Regions from separate parts of the Homo sapiens genome. Here regions 2, 3, 4, 5 and 6 are each linked to region 1. Evidence: promoter capture Hi-C in 16 types of primary human blood cells and fetal thymus (Javierre and others, 2016). All regions are on one chromosome and are shown on one strand. The core of a region is centred on a gene start or on the middle of the fragment in contact, and the rest is flanking DNA. Distances in the headings are between cores, read along the strand shown.

Region 1 (3,095 bases), core at 185-2,684:
GAACCTGGGTTTTAAGACACCCTCCAGGTGATTCTGATACACTCTCAAGTTTGAACATGGGTTTGAAAAGGGCTAACTTGACTCCGTGGAGTCAAGAGCTGGGGAAACCCAAGCACACCTTAGGTCCAGGTATAAAATTAGGCTAGGTTCTAAGCAACTGGAATCAATCTCCTAATGGACATACCAAAGAATAAGAACTGTTTTCAGGATGGCAACTAGAATACTGAATCCCCACAACACAGTCTTTCTGATCCTTTTTTAGGAGAGACATCTGCCAAAGGCCCTCTCAGACTGTCAAAACATCCTGGAATATATTTGCGTCCAACTCTGCACCTTGCTCTCTATTCCCTCACTTCAAACACTAACCTTTCCCATTTGTGCTCTCACCTGAACTGAGTAAATAAGCTTCTAACCACTCTTCTCCCCACCCCTCTCTTCTTGGTATCCAAGATGAGAGTGGCAGGCGAAAGGGTAGTTCTAATGTACCCAAGCAAATGGATACACATCCTAAAACAGGAGTGACTTATGCAGCTGCCCCTCCAGAGTGCATCTCACCTGCTTCAGCAACACAGTTGCCCTTTGGTCTAACCTCCCCCCCTCAACCGCCCCCACGTTCCTATTCCTGGAAAATGGAAAATTCCATAGCCAAACATCAAGCAGACACTTCCCAGAATGCAGCTCATCTCCTCTTCTCCTCCCGCAGAGATACCTCAGGTCTATAGGATTAAGAAAGGCAAGCCCAGCAGCCACTACTCACTGACCAGACCTGGCCCAACATGCTGCAGAAATAATTATCAATTAGTATACTTGAGAGACAGCAGCGTGAGGTGGAGAATGGGTTCTAAACTGAATGACAGCTGTTAACAGTTTTTGGCCCTGTTTTTCCTGTCCTGAATCCTCAACTGAGATCCTAGGGATGAGAAACGGGGGAACAGCACGCCCTACTTGAGAGAATTAGAATTTGAGGCGCTAGGAAGCAAAAGGTAAGAAACAGCTTAAATGTGTGGTAGCACTCCTGAAAATATGCTGGGGCCCCTCAAAAAGCTCACCTTCCCTCACTTCCCACTTCAACTGATTATGAGCATCTTGCTTGATTAAAAGCAATTCATAATAGTAATTGAGAATTAGTAAGAAAAAGCTTAATTAAGCTGAGATTAATTATTTAAGCTGGTACTCGAGGTTTTGGAAGAAAAGTAGAAATTTAATGTCAAGGTATGGAGGAAGAAAAAAGTATGATTGGAGTCAATTATATCTTTTGACAGACAGGAGACCTGATGAATGTCCCTGTCCCTCCAGAGTCCCTGAAGCACCAGTGAAGGGAGAGGGCCTGGCGAGACAGCATGTACAGGTACTTGGGAGTTGTCTAGTAACTTGCTGGTTGGAGGGGGAGGGACTAGCTCAGGGCCCAGGGGGAGGTCTATACTGAAGTTGCTGCCTTTAGAGAGCTGGAGAGGCAGGAGGCTGAGGACTGAAAAGAGAGGGTGAGTAATTCTTCATGACCTGTAGGATCCCAAAGATGGCGACCTGCCAGCCTGGACTGCCAGCGAAGGCCAGAATCGTGCTGTAGCTCTGAACCCACAGCTCCTCTGCCCCTGGCCCATGAGAATTTCAGCTGGAGAGATAGCATGCCCTGGTAAGTGAAGTCCTGCCACTTCGAGACATGGAATCATCTTTCTCATTTGGAGTGATCCTTGCTGTCCTGGCCTCCCTCATCATTGCTACTAACACACTAGTGGCTGTGGCTGTGCTGCTGTTGATCCACAAGAATGATGGTGTCAGTCTCTGCTTCACCTTGAATCTGGCTGTGGCTGACACCTTGATTGGTGTGGCCATCTCTGGCCTACTCACAGACCAGCTCTCCAGCCCTTCTCGGCCCACACAGAAGACCCTGTGCAGCCTGCGGATGGCATTTGTCACTTCCTCCGCAGCTGCCTCTGTCCTCACGGTCATGCTGATCACCTTTGACAGGTACCTTGCCATCAAGCAGCCCTTCCGCTACTTGAAGATCATGAGTGGGTTCGTGGCCGGGGCCTGCATTGCCGGGCTGTGGTTAGTGTCTTACCTCATTGGCTTCCTCCCACTCGGAATCCCCATGTTCCAGCAGACTGCCTACAAAGGGCAGTGCAGCTTCTTTGCTGTATTTCACCCTCACTTCGTGCTGACCCTCTCCTGCGTTGGCTTCTTCCCAGCCATGCTCCTCTTTGTCTTCTTCTACTGCGACATGCTCAAGATTGCCTCCATGCACAGCCAGCAGATTCGAAAGATGGAACATGCAGGAGCCATGGCTGGAGGTTATCGATCCCCACGGACTCCCAGCGACTTCAAAGCTCTCCGTACTGTGTCTGTTCTCATTGGGAGCTTTGCTCTATCCTGGACCCCCTTCCTTATCACTGGCATTGTGCAGGTGGCCTGCCAGGAGTGTCACCTCTACCTAGTGCTGGAACGGTACCTGTGGCTGCTCGGCGTGGGCAACTCCCTGCTCAACCCACTCATCTATGCCTATTGGCAGAAGGAGGTGCGACTGCAGCTCTACCACATGGCCCTAGGAGTGAAGAAGGTGCTCACCTCATTCCTCCTCTTTCTCTCGGCCAGGAATTGTGGCCCAGAGAGGCCCAGGGAAAGTTCCTGTCACATCGTCACTATCTCCAGCTCAGAGTTTGATGGCTAAGACGGTAAGGGCAGAGAAGTTTCAAAGTGCCTTTCTCCTCCCCACTCTGGAGCCCCAACTAGATCAGCAGGAGCTAGGGGGATGAGAGCACTTGCTTCAGGCAATTGACCCCTGTCCCAGCATCCCCCACCCCCAGACTGACAGGTAACTGAGGCAGAGTCCTGACTTTCTTCTATAATCAGTTTCCCCATTTTCAAATCGCCACTCCTCCCTGTCCTTCTTTTGAAATGAGCCTGTCTCTGGTGTACAGGTACACTTACTTAAAGCAAGAAATGTACTGCTAAAAAGATGCTTATAGATCAAATTCTATTTTTGAGTATACCAGAGCAGCACTGTCCAACAGAAATATAATGTGAGCCACACGCATAATTTTACATGTTCCAGTAACCGTTTTATAAAGGTAAAAAGAAACAGGCAAAACTAATAT
Region 2 (2,945 bases), core at 236-2,735, 570 kb before region 1:
GGACCCACACAAATGTGTCCAAGTAATTTTTGACAAAGTTGTCAAAATATATCACTGGAGGAAGGATAAACTTTGTAACAAATGGTGCTAGAGGTATTGGACATTCATAGACAACAAATGACCCTTAACTTAAACCTCATACCTTATAAAAGTTCAAAATGGATCATGGACTTCAATGTAAAACATAAAATTATAAAACTTTTTAAAAAAGTTTTTTAAGTAGGAGAAAATCTTCAGGGTCTAAGGCTAGACAAGGATTTATTAAATTTGACACTAAAAATACAATTTATAAAAGGAAAAAATTGATAAGACTTCATCAAAATAAAAAACTTTTTCTCTGCAAAGGACCCTATTAAGAGGATGAAACAACAAGCTACAGAGTGGGAGAAAATATCTGCAAACCACATATCCAGAAAGGACAATATTTAGAGTATAGGAGTAACCCAAACTCAGCAGTTTAAAAAATCCAATTAAATAATAGAAAAAAGACATAAACAGACATTTCACTGAGGATGATATACAGATGGCAAATAAGTACATGGAAAGATATTCAACATTATTAGTGATTAAAGAAATGTGAAAAAAAATCACAATGATATATCACTACACTACTATCAGCTTAGCTAAAATAAAAAATAGTGACAACATCAGATGCTGCCAAGGATGAGGAGAAACTGGATCACTCATACATTACGGGTGAGAATGTAGCCACTCTGAATAACAGTTTGGTACTTCTTCAACATATTAAATGTAGTTTCCATATGACCCACTGTTATACAAATGAGTCAAAGATGGCCTCTGTATGTTAGCCCTATCTTGTTTATTTTTTTCACAAGCCAGGATTTATTAGCTCAAAAGCCCATCAGTACTAAGGTCAAATTTTCACACATTCTTTTGTTATAAATGTAGCTCAAATAAACAGATATTTACTCATTTAGAGCCTTCCTGCTTTGCATACTCCACAAAACTGCATCCAACACCTGTTAGCCAGAGATAAGACAAACCACAGGGCTAAAGACTCTAAGCCACTGTTACCCTTCAGAGTCTCTGCTGCTCAGTGATATAACCTAGACACTTAAGCTTCCTCTTTGATCCCTCGTTCCCCCAGAAGTTCCCTTGCCCTCCTCTCCTTAATAAAATAAAGAGGGGAAATTTGGACACAGAGACAAACATGCACAGAGGGAAGATGACATGAAGATGGTTATGTGATAATGTAGGCAAAGATTGGACTGATGGCAGCTGCAAGCCAAAGATTGCCAGCCACTACTAGTAGCTAGGAAATGACAAGGAAGTATTCTACCATGACAGTTTCAGAGACAGCTGACTTGATTTGGGACAGCTAGCCTCCAGAGCTGTAGAGCAACAAATTCTTGTTGTTTTAAGCCATGTAGTTTTTGGTACTTTGTTATGACAGCCCTATCAAACTAATATACCATGGAATATTTGGAATATTACTCAGCAATTAAGGCAATGAACTATTGATAAACACAACTTGGAGAATTATGCTAAATTTTTTAAAAGGCCAATCCCAAAAGGTGACACACTGTATAATCCCATTCATAGAACATTATGAAATGCCAAATATTAGAAATGAATGACAGGTTAGTGGTTGCCAGAGTTTAGGGATGGGACTGTGGGGTGCACAGGAGGGTTGTGTGCATGGCTATAAAAGAGCAACACAAAGGATCCTTGTGGAAATGTTCTGTATCTTGACTGGTGCTAAATTTGTGAATCTACACGTGATAAAATTGTATAGAACTTACTACACACACAAGTATAAAGTAAAACTGGAGAAATCAGAATCAAATTAGTGATTTGTATCAGTGTATCGGTATCTTGGTTGTGATATTATACTATAGTGTTGCAAAATGCTGCTATTTGGGAAGCTTAGCAAAGTGTCAATGGGTCTCTCTAAATTATTTCTTACAACTGCATGTGAATCTACAATTAGCTCAATAAAAATTTCAATTAGAATAAAGCATCACTTGGCTGTTAAGAACAAACTTTGAAGGGCAAGGGTGGCAGCAGGGAGAACAGCTAGGAAACTTCTGCATAAATCCAGGAATAAATGGATAATTGCTCCGACTAGGATGATAGCAGTAACGTAAAGGTAGAGAGAAGCAGTTGGATTCTGGATACATAGTGTTTTGAAAGTAGAACAGAATTTTCTAACAGACGCATGTAAGATGTGAGAGAAAGAGAAGTGTCAAGGATGATGTAAAGGTGTTAATATGGTGAAGGCTGCAGGTGGAGAGGGTTTGGCAGTAGAGTTGGGGGGAAGGGATTAAGATAGTAAACCTTGGGGACTGGATGAGATCATTAAGGGAATAATTCTTGCTTAGAGAAAAGAGAAAAACTAATAACTGAGACTTCAAAGAAGGTTCTCGGAAAAAAAAAAGGTACCTCAGAAAGTTACCCAATTACAAAAGTATGGAACATTGAAGCATGTGGATTTGTGGACTACTTGCAGTAAGGAGTCTGCAACCCACAGGCTGGGGATTATTAGGCTGGGATATCTTGGATAGGAATATGGGCCTCATGACTTGAGTCTATGTCCAAGGAACCCAGGAGGAAAATACCCTCCTTCCCCCACCCCCTCAAAAAGTGACAAAACAAAACAAAATAGCAGGTCCAAAGTGGCTGCTTTCATATTCTGCAAAGGTATCCCTGAGTGGGCAGATATTTACTTTGTAAATATTGTGAAAAATGACTTCATTCTGCCATCTGATCCAATCTTTCCACTGGGAGCTTAGCTGCTTCCCCCAGATCCAACCTGTCAGTCTCATGGTTGATATAGACTCCAGAAGATGTGGCCCTGGCTGCCACCCTCCTCATCATGCTTCTCACCCCATCTGTTGGCTGGTTCTTAATTCTCTGCACTGGCATTAGAATTTCCCTCTGGGAACCCAATTAGGGTGTGCTCACCAAGCAAAACTAATGTGCCC
Region 3 (3,194 bases), core at 414-2,913, 770 kb after region 1:
AGGCAGGCAAGGACCATGCCAGCCTAGAGCCCTAGAACATAGTGGATGCTAAACTTATACACAGTAGGTGCTCAATGAAACCTCAGGAGTGTCTTTCACCTGGGAATTTGATAACTCTACTACTACTTTAGGACTCAAGTATTTCTTTTTTTTGAGATGGAGTCTTGCTCTGCCACCCAGGCTGGATTGCAGTGGTATGATCTTGGCTCACTGCAACCTCTGCCTTCCAGGTTCAAGCAATTCTCCTGCCTCAGCCTCCCATGTAGCTGGGATTACAGGCGCCCGCCACCATGCCTGGCTAATTTTTGTATTTTTAGTAGAGACAAGATTTCACCGTGTTGGCCAGGCTGGTCTTGAACTCCTGACCTCAAGCAATCCACCTGCCTCGGCCTCCCAAAGTGCTGGGATTACAGGCATGAGCCACCATGCCCAGCCAGAACTCAAGTATTCTTAAACATGAGTCATCACTGCCTCTTCCCTACCTTGCAGGAGACAAAGGCTATAGAGACCTCAGTCCCTATTTTCCCTTGGGAAACTCACAGTCTAGTAGGCTCAGCCCTAAGAAATTTCTCCGAAGACATTCAGAAGTAAGTAATTGATGAACAAGATAGGGGATGACTGTGATATTTATTAACAAAGAAATAAACTGGGTGATGACAAACAGTATATGTGTTTCTGGGGTACCAGGGGAGATACTTTGACTTTATATGGGTTGTCAGACCTCTATGAGCTAGTGGCTTTTGAGCTGAGCCTGAAAGATGAAAAGGAAGCAGCCCACAAAAATCTGGAGGAAGAACATTCCAGGCAGAGAGAACAGCCAGCACAAAAGCCCCAGGGCAGCAAAGGACTTGGGGCCTCTTGGACCAGAATGGAGGCTGGTGTCCCTATGGGATTAGGCAGAGAGATAAGGTTAAAGAGGCAGGTGTGGGCTGATCATGCCAGGGCGTTTACGCCATCTTAAGGGAGGGTCATGAGCACAATAACAATTCATAGCATTGAGACCTTTCCCAAAAACACCTTGTCACTACACATGGCTCAATGATCTACATTCTATTCGAGCAGAGGAAAGATGTGGCACTTAGTCAACCATTTTCCCATCACAGTTCTGAACATGTTGGAAAAGCAAAGCTTCTCTTTTTTGGACTTCACCAATTCAAGCTTTGAACTAGTTCATATAGCGGTTGGGCTATGAGACAGTGGGTTTGATACACTGCCTCCCAGTACCCACCAAAGGAACCCAGGATCTTCTGTTTAAAAAAACAGACCCACCAGCAAGTTAGAAATCAACCATGGCTGTGCTGCTTGCATATCAGGCTTATCTATTCACTAAAGCTCGCTCCTGAAGATTCCTATTTGACATAATTGTGTTAACCCTCTTCCTATTGCTATGTAGTGGAAAATGATTGTTAAAAAAAAAAAAAAACACGTTGGCCGGGCACAGTGGCTCACGCCTGTAATCCCAGCATTTTGGGATGCTGAGGCGGGCGGATCACAAGGTCAGGAGATTGAGACCATCCTGGCTAACACGGTGAAACCCCGTCTCTACTAAAAATACATAAAATTAGCAGGGCATGGTGGCGGGCGCCTGTAGTCCCAGCTACTTGAGAGGCTGAGGCAGGAGAATGGCGTGAACCCGGGAGGCGGAGCTTGCAGTGAGCCGAGATTGCGCCACTGTGCTCCAGCCTGGGTGACAGAGTGAGACTCTGTCTCAAAATAAATAAATAAATAAAATAAAACACGTAGTTTTGGGGGAAACATTCAATATGTTGATTTTTAAAAACAGAATAAAAACTCTGATCTCTGCCTAATTCATCTGAATTTCCTGAGTGTCTATTGATATATCTGTGATGAAGGATTTGTGTTCACATCCTGGGCAGAAGACATAGTAAACCTCGAAATATACCAAACACAGGGACAAGTTCCCTCCTCCCCCCTCTTCCCCCAAGAATTCTATTCAGAACCAGGTTCCTGGTCTTGGTTCCTTGAACCTGCCTGGCAGACAGTCCCAGGTGTGTGTTTCCTTACACTTTACATCCGAGCCACTGTTCTGACTTTCGAGACTTTCCTTCTTCCTCAAGGCTCAGCCTAGAAGACAGTGTGTGGCACAGATTGCGCTCAGCAAATATTTGCTCCCCTACATTTCTCAGCCTTTCTTGCAATTAAGCTTGGGCCACGTGACTAATTCTGACCAAGAGAGTCAGTGAACTTAATGTGCATCATTTCTGGGCCAAGACAGTTAAGAGTTGGTGTGCTGTTATGGGCTGAATTGTGTCCCCCTTATCCATATATTGAAACACTAGACCGCCAGTGTGGCTGTATTTGGTGTTAGGAAGTAATTAAGGTTAAATGAGTATGGGGCCCTGATCCAATAGGATTAGTGCCTTCGTAAGAGGAGATACCAGAGAGCTAGCTCTCTCTCAGCCATGGGAAGACACAGCGAGAAGTCAGCCATCTGCAAGCCAGAAAGAGTGCCCTTACCTGACACTGAATCTGCCAGTGTCTTGACTGTGGGCTTTCCAGCTGTGGAACTGTGAGAAATGAATTCCTCTTCTTTAAGCTACCCAGTCTATGCTAGTTTGTTATGACAGCCCATGCTGACTAAGACTATTTACTTCTCCATCTGTCTTTCCCCCTGCTGTGGAGTTCTAGGAGGCCACATGTTTCAGGTTGGCCTTACTACGTGTCATCCAACCTGCACTAGACTTTTGTGAGAACCAGAAATAAGCCTTTCTTGTGTTAAACCCCTGAGATTTCAGGGTTTCTGTGTTATTGCAGCATAACTCCACATATTCTGACCAATGCACAGTGACAGAGAAAAGGACATGGCACATCATCTTTGTCCAAACAAAAGCAAAAGCAGATGTGGGCCACCAGCTGTTCTCCCTCTGGCCCATCTTGTCTCCAAGGCTGAAGGTGGCCCCAGTGAGTCCTGGGTATTAAGACAGGTGCAAACTGTGCTTCCTGGGTCCTGGGATTCAGCAAACGATGAAGATTTAAACTGCTGGAGGAATCCACTGAGGTTTCAAGTAAGAAAACAAGAGCTCCAGCTGCTCTTGGGAAACTCTGGGAGGTAAGGTATTGTTTCTAGAAAGCCCCCACTGAAATGCACACCAGTTCCCTGGAAGGAGTCATGCATTTATCCACTGACAACCAAGAGGCACATGTTAGGGACTGATTTATCAGGGGAGGGCTAG
Region 4 (2,920 bases), core at 280-2,779, 550 kb before region 1:
TTATCCAGGATAATCTCCCTTACTTAAAATTCAGTGGATCAGGGGCTTTAATTGCACATGCAATGATACATGATACCTGAATGATATATAAACATACAAATTGCAAAAATGGTGTCAAAATTTTATATAATACAATGAATAATATTTTATTAATGTGGTATTTTTATTGATCATAAGATTTTTTTGGCTCACTTTTGTGAAAATTATTTATTAGATCCTCAAAGTTTTTAATTTTAGTAACCGCATTTTTTTTTTTTTTTTTTTTTTTTTTTTTTTTGAGATGGAGTCTTGCTCTGTCGCCCAGGCTGGAGTGCAATGGTGCAAACACGGCTGACTGCAAGCTCCGCCTCCTGGGTTCACGCCACTCTCCTGCCTCAGCCTCCCGAGTAGCTGGGACTACAGGCGCCTGCCACCACACCCGGCTAATTTTTTTGTATTTTTAGTAGATACGGGGTTTCTCCGTAGCCAGGATAGTCTCAATCCCCCGACCTTGTGATCCACTCGCCTCGGCCTCCCAAAGTGCTGGGATTACAGGCGTGAGCCACCATGCCTGGCAAGTAATCTCATTTTTAATTGACATAATGAAAGCAACATGCATTTTTAGGTTGTGATAACAATGTAATAAATTTCCAATAAATTGTATTACAGTTAGACCTGATGATTCTTGGAGAACAATTTCTCCGAAAAGAAAAACCTCTTCATACAAATGCAGTTTTCTGTAAGTGTGATTTAATTTAATTATTTTATTTATTTATTTTTGAGACAGTCTTGCTGTTTTGCCCAGGCTGGAGTGCTCACCAGCAATGGTGAGGTGGGAGGCTCACCACAATGTCCGCCTCCCAGGTTCAAGCGATTCTCCTGCCTCAGCCTCCCTAGTAGCTGGGATTATAGACATGCACCACCACACCCAGCTAATTTTTGTATTTTTAGTAGAGATGGGGTTTTACCATGTTGGTCAGGCTAGTCTCAAACTCCTGGCCTCATGTGATCCACCTGCCTTGGCCTCCCAAAGTGCTGAGATTACAGGCAAGAGCCACCGCACCCAACTATTAATTTTAAATGTATATTTATATGACGGTATGTTAAGTAGAATTCTTAAAATGGCCCCTAAAATGTCATACCCTAATCTCTAGAACCTGTATAGATATATTAATATATGATGAGATACCTCTCATGATTGTGTTACACAGCGTAGTTGACCTCAAAAAAGGAAGATTATTCAGGTGAGCCTAGTCAAATCACATGAACACTTTTAAATGCAGTTTTCTCCAGCTAGTAGCAAAAGGGGAAGTCAAAGGGATTTAAAGCATATGGGGGAGTCACATGAGGGATCCTGATGCCAGTTGTGATAGTTTCTTTACTGTAAAGATGATTTTTTTCCTCGTTTGGAAAGAAGTCACTAAGTCTTGCCCAAACTCAAGGAGTGGTGGTGGCAATAATAATTAAGCATCATCTCCAAGAGGGGAGAATCTATAGAAATTTCTAACAAATTTCTGATAAACATGGAATTCTGTTGTAAGAAAATTTGTCTTGTTTCCCTCATTTATTTATTTATTCAATCATCTATTTATACCACTAAGGATTCAAATATTTTTATTTTGTACTTTGGGTAATAATCCAGTAGTACATGATTTACTTTGTTGTTCAGATTTTTCCATCTTTGCTCATTGGGAGCTCTTTCACATTGCCTTCTGTCCTTCTGTGTCACTTTGACATGCCCTACCTTTTTTTTAGAAAAACTACTTCCTTATTTTGTGGTACTACAAGATGCTCCAGACTCACCTTGTATTTCCTCTGAATCATTTTCTCTAAATAGTGAATTAAGCCCATTCACATTTATTGATATCACTGATATGTTTAATTTCAACTCTGTCATACTATTTTATTCTATTACTGTGTGTGTCAGTCAGGTTGAATCAGAGAAGTAGAACATGTAGGGTGTATGTCTGTTACATGAATTGGCTTATGCAATTGTAGGGCCTAGCTAAAAAAGCCTGAAATCCTTAGGGCAAGCAGTCACGAAGGGAAGTTCACTGGCAGGCTCAAATTCCACAGGCACAGGCCAAAGCTGTTGTCCACAGGAAGAATTTTTTCTGTCTCTTCGAGAAACTTCAGCCCTGCTTTTAAGACTTACCTAATTGATTCAGTCAGGCCCACTCAGATTATCCAGGATAATCTCTCTTACTTAAAATCAATGAATTAGGGGCTTTAATTGCATCAGCAAGAACATTCAACAGCAATACCTAGATTAGTGTTTGATGGAACAACTGGGGGCTATAGCCCAGCCAAACTGACATCTCATGGGAGCCGTCACACTGTAAGTATTATATTGTACTTTCTGTGTGTCTATGTGGGCTCTTTTCCTGCCTTGGTAATTAGGCAGGTTTGTCACTTTGTTCTAGTGGTTACCTTTACACTACTGTCTTTTATAATACTCTTACTTTCCTTACTTAACCTTCTACTACCTGGTTTGTCAGATTTAATCTTTATTTGATATCCCTTTACCTCCATGTATTCCCCATGTAACAATAAAACAGAACTAATGTTTAAAAGTATACTTAAAAGAAAAAAACTTTCCAGCAACAAAATAAAACCAGCATTGTCATACTAGATACAGTCCGTCATGTATGGGGGAAAGATGATCCAGAATGGTTGGCACCAATAAAAATCTCAGTGCCAAATCTTAGACTTCAAATGTAAATAAATAAAGCTCAGGGCCTCTTGGCAAAAAGTTGAAGTAACTTTAAAAGAATGAAAATAAGTTTAGCACCAAACTTCCCAACAATAACATAGAAAGCAAGACAACAATGGAGTAGCATGTTCAAGAAACTCAAGGAAATACAGTGTGAGCCAAGCTGTCTTTCACTTATTGATTACAATTTAGTCCTCATTTCTATGATGATTTTGACATCAATTAATT
Region 5 (3,044 bases), core at 385-2,884, 790 kb after region 1:
AGAGCGGCAACCTTGTCTGGTTTAATTCTAGATCCCCAGCACCTTGAACAGCACAGGGCGCACAGGAGCCACTCAACAAATACTTGTCAAGTGAATAACCCATACTGAGATGTAGGAGGAGGAGTGATGGTTGATGGGGAAAAGTCCAGAGAGGGTGGAGGAGAAGGGCTCAAAAGTGCAGGTGGAAGAGCTGGTCTTGGCGAGGAGGACCGCTTATTCTCAGACAGATGGAAAGGGGGAGGGATGAGGTTAAGCTGAAGACATTTTGATGTGCAGGGGGCAAGGCTGTTTTGACATTTTCACAAAGTAAAGGGTACAGTCACTTGCTGGGAGCTGAAGGGCAGCAGAAGCGGGTTCTGGGCCTGGAGGCCCATGGAGGGCTTGGGAATAATTGCACTAGCTGCCATTTATTTAGCACTTAGGCACCAGGCACTGTTCCAAGGCCTGGAAATGTAGTATCTGATCTCATCCTCATGATGATACTATGAGGAAAGGTGCTATCATTACTTTTAAGATGTGGAAACACCTTCAATACGTACAATTTGTCTTCTCAATTATACCCAATAAAGCTGGAGAGAAAAGACATGGAAACCAAGGCACAGAGACGTCAATTAACTTTTGATCAGGGTCACACATCTAGAAGTGGCAGAGCTGGGATTTGAACTCAGGCAGTCTGGTCATTAGAGCCTATGTGAAGAACCACTATAGCTTCCTGCCTCCCCAGGCCCCGTGGAGCAGGTACGTGAGGTCATCAAGAGAGGAAGAGGAAGATTGTGGAAGAGTACATGGCAAGCCCAGGGGCAGTCAGCCAGCATGCTATACCAGGAAGCCCAGGAATGAGGGCAGAGAGTCAATGGGACAGGGCGGGTGACTTAGGGTTAGGCACAGCAAAGATGGGGACTGAGGCAAGAAAGAGAGAGGAAGGAGTTTTCTGGGTAAACAGCACATGCAAAGGCCCTGAGGCTGGAAAGAGTTCAGCTCACTGGGAGGAGTAAAAGGACAGTATCAGAGTATATTGGCAGGGGTGAGGAAGGGTTATGGTAGGCAGAGGTCAGATCCTTTAGGGTGGTATTCTCAAAGTGTGGTCCTGCATCAAAATGCTCTTGGGTCCTGATTTAGAATGCAGACTCCTGTGCCTCCTCTCAGACCAACTGACTCAGAATTTCTGGAGCCTAGGAATCTGCTTTTTAACAATGTATCCAGGTGATTCTTCTGCACATGAAGATTTGAGACCCATTGATGCAGGGCCTGGTGGGCCATGGCGAAGCTTAGGTTTCATTGTAAATGTCGCTGAAGGGTTATCAACAGGGGAGGGATGAGACTGATGTAATTAAGTCATGCTGCCTGCTGCGTGGAAAATGGATTGGAGGGCAGCAAAGTTAAAAAGACCAGGCAGGGCATGGTGGGCTCATGCCTCTAATCCCAGCACTTTGTGAAGCCAAGGTGGGAGGACTGCTTGAGCCCAGGAGTTTGAGACCAGCCTGGGCAACACAGGGGGACCCTACCTCTACAATTATTTTTTTTTTAATTAGCCAGGCTTGGTAATGTGCGCCTACAGTCCCAGCTACTCGGAGGCTGAGGTGGGAGCATCGCTTGAACCTGGGAAGTCAGGCTGCAGCAGTGAGCCGATCATGCCACTGCACTCCAGCTGAGGCAACAGAGTAAGACCCTGTCTCAAAAAAGAAAAAAAAGAGAGAGAGAGAGAAAGAAGACTAGGCAGGAGGCCATGACGACACCCTAAGAAGGGATGATGGTGGTGGCCTTGACCAATAAAATTGGCAGTGGGGGTGATGAAAAGCAGACGCGTGGGGCACGTTGCTGAGGTGGTCGGTCGGTAGGAAAGAGAGAAATCAAGGCTAACTCCTAGATGCTTAGCCCCAGCAACTGGGCAGATGGTGTTGACATTCTCTGAGCTGAGGGAAGACAGGTAGAGGATCTAGGTTGGGTGGTAGTAAAAGAACCAGAAGTAAAAGAATTCCACTTTGGACGTGTGAAGCTTGACATGCCTGTGAGACATCTGAGGGGAGATGCCAGCTAACTAATTGGATATACTGGGCAGGAACTCGGAAGAGAGCTATGAGGTGGAGACGTAACATTTGGAATCAGGGGTATTACAGACATTTACAGCCACGGAAATTGATAAGATGCCACCAAAGGAATTAATGGGCAAGCAGAGTAGAACTGCTTGAAAAAACAAATGCCACTATGCCATGCAGTGTCACTAACCTAAGTAACCTTAGGTCAGTCATTGTCCCCTCTGAGACTTTCCCTATCCAAACAATGAGATTGGATTAGGTCACCACTAAGGTTCTCTCCCTAACATTTAGTGATGCCACTGTTGCAATGTGTGGCTTTTACATTATGAGGCTACACCAAGAGCCAGTTCTTCAACTTGCCCTGCAATCAGAAAGGTCCTAATGGGTCTCCTATAACAGAAGCCTCACAGCTGGGGATGCCATTTCCTCTCTAACCTCTGGAAAGACTGACCACCTGCCTGCTATTCTCATTGCCTGCTACTATGTAAAAACTTCTGGTGTCAGTCTCCATCTGCTGGGGGGAAAATCACTCTCAGAAAGAAACACCTTCTCCTGCCAAGGCTTTGGGTGGGGCTTTGAAAGTTGTTTATGACAACACTGAGTCAGCACATTCATCAGGGTCAAGCTCACAGTTGGAGGGAATTGGAAGAGGGCCTTAGTAGAGAAGAAACCTCCAGCTGAGGCTTCTTCAGTCTCAAAGGGAATGGAATCAGAATCCACAAATTCATAATGGAGATTGGCAGGGAAGCATTGGCACCATGCTCAAATCAGCGGTTTCCTCCCAACGTGTTAGGCAGTTCAGATTAGAACAACAAAAAAGTACTAAATTTATGGACTTGATCACCCCAAGAAGTCATAAAAGTTCAAAACTGGTTTTCAAAAGCTGCAAAATAGGATTATGTGAAAACAAGCTCTTTGGGGAAGCGCGTCTAAACTACTGAGACTACTGAGCAGGGGTAGCTGGGTTCTCCCCAGATGTGTATCTTAGGGTTTGTTTCTGGGGCCGGA
Region 6 (3,252 bases), core at 499-2,998, 520 kb before region 1:
ATGAGGAATGGTTTAGAAAGGGTGCTCAGGAAAACCAATACTGGCAAAAAGAACATGATGTAAGAGCTTAACAAATGGGACTTTCTGGCCGGGTGTGGTGGTTCATGCCTGTAATCCCAACACTTTGGGAGGCCAAGGCGGGTGGAACACCTGAGGTCAGAAGTTTGAGACCAGCCTGGCCAACATGGTGAAGCCCGTCTCTGCTGAAAATACAAAAAAATTAGCTGGGCGTGGGGGTGGGTGCCTGTAATCCCAGTTACTTGGGAGGCTGAGGCAGGAGAATCACTTGAACTCAGGAGGCAGACGTTGCAGTGAGCCAAGACCGCGCCATTGCACACCAGCCTGGGCAACAAGAACGAAACTCCGTCTCAAAAAAATCCCCAAAAAACAAACAAAACAAAACAAACAAACAAAAAACCAAATGGGACTTTCCATTTTTTGCAAGGTTTTCCAACTTGCATTAATTCCACAATTTATAAAAATGTCTGTCCTTCAAGAAGCACATATCTACTTCCCAGGGTTACCAGCTCCCTGGTCACCAGTTCTTTCCTTTCTTCTCAATCTCATGTGCTTGCCCTGTCCTTCTTAAGCAAAAATTCTGAGACACCAAGGACATTGCTGGTCCTGATTCAGTAAACGGCCTCTCTTTATGGTTTCTTCCCTGCATCATTCCTACCATTTCACTTGTATGAATCCACTTTTTTAACCTTTTATGACAACTTTATTGATGTATAATTACCAATCACTATCACCACAGGCTGAGCAAACAGTCTCTTAAGCTTGGTCACAGAGCAAGCTGCCAACACTGAATGCAGATCCTGTGTTTAACCCTGACCACCAGCCAAACACCTAACCCAAGACATAGCCTAAACTCCTAACTCTGAACTTGGAGGCTTAACTCCAATTTCACACCAAGCCTTTAACCCTGGCCACAAATGAAGACCCTAATTCTATCCACAAACTGAGCCACTTTCTGGCCACACTCCAAGGTCTTAATCCTGATTAAATCAAGTCCCTAGGCCTAGTTACATACTGACTGTCTACATCTGGCCCAAGAGTAAGTACTTAAGACTGGTCCCAACCTGAATCTCTAACCCTGATCCCCTATTGAACCATAACTATGGCTACTGTATAAGTCCTTAATTCACGATACAGGGATCAAAAATAACATCAGATATAGCCCCTAAGTCTGTCCCCAGGCTGAGTCTCTAAACTAGGCTACAGACTGCATGACCTAACTCTGGGATATACTTAACATCCTGAACTGACCACAAAATGAGTGCTCAGCATAGATACTAACTGAGCTCTAGCCCTGACTACAGACTGAGGCTCTAACTTGGTCACAGCCTGAGATCTGATCTTGGAAACCAACCCAGCTACAATTTCCCAGACTTAGCACTAACCAGAAAATGACCCCAACATTGGCAACAGAATGACTACTAAACTTGGCCTCATACAGAGACGAAAACATGTACAGAGACCAGACTCTAAACTTGTCCCAACTCTGTGCCTTAATCATGGCCAAGAAGTGAAACCAAATCTTCCACAAAACTTGAGAATATTTTGACCACAGCATATGTCCTAATCCTGACTATAGACAGAACCCTGAACATGGCCACAAACTGAGTCTTAACCATGTTCAAAGCCCAAGTTCTAAACCTGGACAGAGACTGGGTTCATAAATCTGATCAGGAAATAATCTACTGATCCTGGGACAGACTGAGCCCTATCACTGGCCACTGATTTGACCCCTAAACCTTACAGCTTCTAACTGGTTACAGACTGCATCTCTAACTCTAGCCATAGACTGAATTCCTAACTCTCATCACAGACTGAGCCCATAAGCCTAACCTCTGACATGAGCTTTCAACCTGAAAATAAATCTGATTTCTCCAAATGGCTAATGACTGATCCTGAATTTTTGAGATAGACTGAACCCTATCTCTGGCTAAATGTTCACCCGAGACTGGATCCCAATTTCAACCACAACTTTAACTTTAACCCTGGCTACCGACTGATTCCTAATACCAGAAATTAAGCTGCTCACCAGCACTGGGCAGAGACTGAACCCAAACCTTGAAGATGAATGAAGGACAAACTAGACAAAGACAAAACAAATACTTTTCATTTTCTTGGCCTAAAACCCTGCAACAGATTTAATTCTAACCCTGAGCACAGACGGAACTCACCATGGCTAAGATCTGAGCCCTCTTCCTGGCCACATTCTGAATACTGAGCTGGGATGAAGACTGTAAGTCCCACCACAGTCTGAGACCTAAAGGCCAAGCCCTAAGCCTGGTTAGAGAAATGATTCCTGACCCTACAAGACTAAATCAAAATCCTGCTCATATTATCAGATCTAACAACAGGCTGAGACTAAGTACTCACCTTTGTCACATATCAAGTCTTAAACCCATAAACAAAGTTCACTGTATTAGTGGCCACAAACTGAGTCCTAGCACTAGCTGGAGGTTGAGCAATCAGTCTGGTCACAAACTTAGTCCTCAATTGTGAATAGATGTACCCATGGCACTGGGCACATTATGGTCACTAACAATTAGCAAAGACTGAACTCTACTACTGATACCGAAATGCCTGCTACACTAAGCCAGAGTCTAAGTGCCAGACTGACAACAGGCAATGAACACTCTGAACTCAAACCCTGGCAACATCCTGATCCCAAAACCCTGATTACAGCCTGAGCCTCTAAAGCTTTCAATCTGGATTTTATGTGTTGTTTGTTCTCATCTCAACTCTATCCACTGACTGACAAATAACATCAACAGCTAATCCAAAAAACCTGTTTACACTCTTAGCCTTAAAACCTTCTTCATAGTAAGCCTTACCTTGGTTATTGGTAACTCCCAAACTCTGGTACAAGTTTAATCAGATAGCACTACCACCAATACTCAGTGAACACAAATGCTACATAAAGTCATAGTGGAATTACTCCCTCCAGACTCAACTCTGATAGTGGTCAAATTGAAATGGCTAATACAGGTCACCGACTGAGCCCTGCTCTGGCCACAGAATGAGGGCCAACACAGGCCACTGTGAGTTAGCTCCATAGAACATTGTTGATATGAGCTATGGACAAAGACAGAATCCTGACACTGGCTAAAGTCAGAAACCACACCTTGAACTTACTCTAGCCAAATATGCATCCCAAATCCTGTTCATATTCATCATTGAAATCCTGGCCACAAACTGTATCATAATTTTGTCCATATATGAAATGCTAACTCTGGTTTG

What was found. Contacts are between HindIII fragments. The CHiCAGO score rates a contact against its expected background, and 5 or more counts as called.
Region 2: a contact is called between a fragment that was not itself captured here and the fragment with the promoter of GPR119 in region 1, in 7 of 17 cell types (megakaryocytes, naive CD8 T cells, M0 macrophages and 4 more). The highest score is 8.0, in megakaryocytes.
Region 3: a contact is called between a fragment that was not itself captured here and the fragment with the promoter of GPR119 in region 1, in 1 of 17 cell types (neutrophils). The highest score is 5.1, in neutrophils.
Region 4: a contact is called between a fragment that was not itself captured here and the fragment with the promoter of GPR119 in region 1, in 7 of 17 cell types (M2 macrophages, M0 macrophages, M1 macrophages and 4 more). The highest score is 7.6, in M2 macrophages.
Region 5: a fragment that was not itself captured here is called in contact with the fragment with the promoter of GPR119 in region 1 in 2 of 17 cell types (activated CD4 T cells and total CD4 T cells); the score reaches 6.5 in activated CD4 T cells.
Region 6: a fragment that was not itself captured here is called in contact with the fragment with the promoter of GPR119 in region 1 in 12 of 17 cell types (M2 macrophages, M0 macrophages, naive B cells and 9 more); the score reaches 10.1 in M2 macrophages.

What each region holds. Positions count from the first base shown.
Region 1 is chrX:130,384,013-130,387,107 of GRCh38, reverse strand. It overlaps GPR119 (G protein-coupled receptor 119), which reads left to right and starts at 1,434. Exons shown (of 2, transcript NM_178471.3): 1 at 1,434-2,672. The coding sequence starts at 1,661. The coding sequence ends at 2,668. The HindIII fragment of the contact is 2,318 bases long and covers 1,141-3,095 here.
Region 2 is chrX:130,950,673-130,953,617 of GRCh38, reverse strand. No RefSeq gene overlaps it. Among named protein-coding and RNA genes, the nearest start is that of ENOX2, 49 kb to the right of the region's middle. The HindIII fragment of the contact is 806 bases long and covers 1,083-1,888 here.
Region 3 is chrX:129,610,203-129,613,396 of GRCh38, reverse strand. No RefSeq gene overlaps it. Among named protein-coding and RNA genes, the nearest start is that of APLN, 43 kb to the left of the region's middle. The HindIII fragment of the contact is 1,006 bases long and covers 1,161-2,166 here.
Region 4 is chrX:130,931,931-130,934,850 of GRCh38, reverse strand. No RefSeq gene overlaps it. Among named protein-coding and RNA genes, the nearest start is that of ENOX2, 30 kb to the right of the region's middle. The HindIII fragment of the contact is 3,380 bases long and covers 1-2,920 here.
Region 5 is chrX:129,592,896-129,595,939 of GRCh38, reverse strand. No RefSeq gene overlaps it. Among named protein-coding and RNA genes, the nearest start is that of OCRL, 54 kb to the right of the region's middle. The HindIII fragment of the contact is 729 bases long and covers 1,270-1,998 here.
Region 6 is chrX:130,907,782-130,911,033 of GRCh38, reverse strand. No RefSeq gene overlaps it. Among named protein-coding and RNA genes, the nearest start is that of ENOX2, 6.2 kb to the right of the region's middle. The HindIII fragment of the contact is 1,933 bases long and covers 782-2,714 here.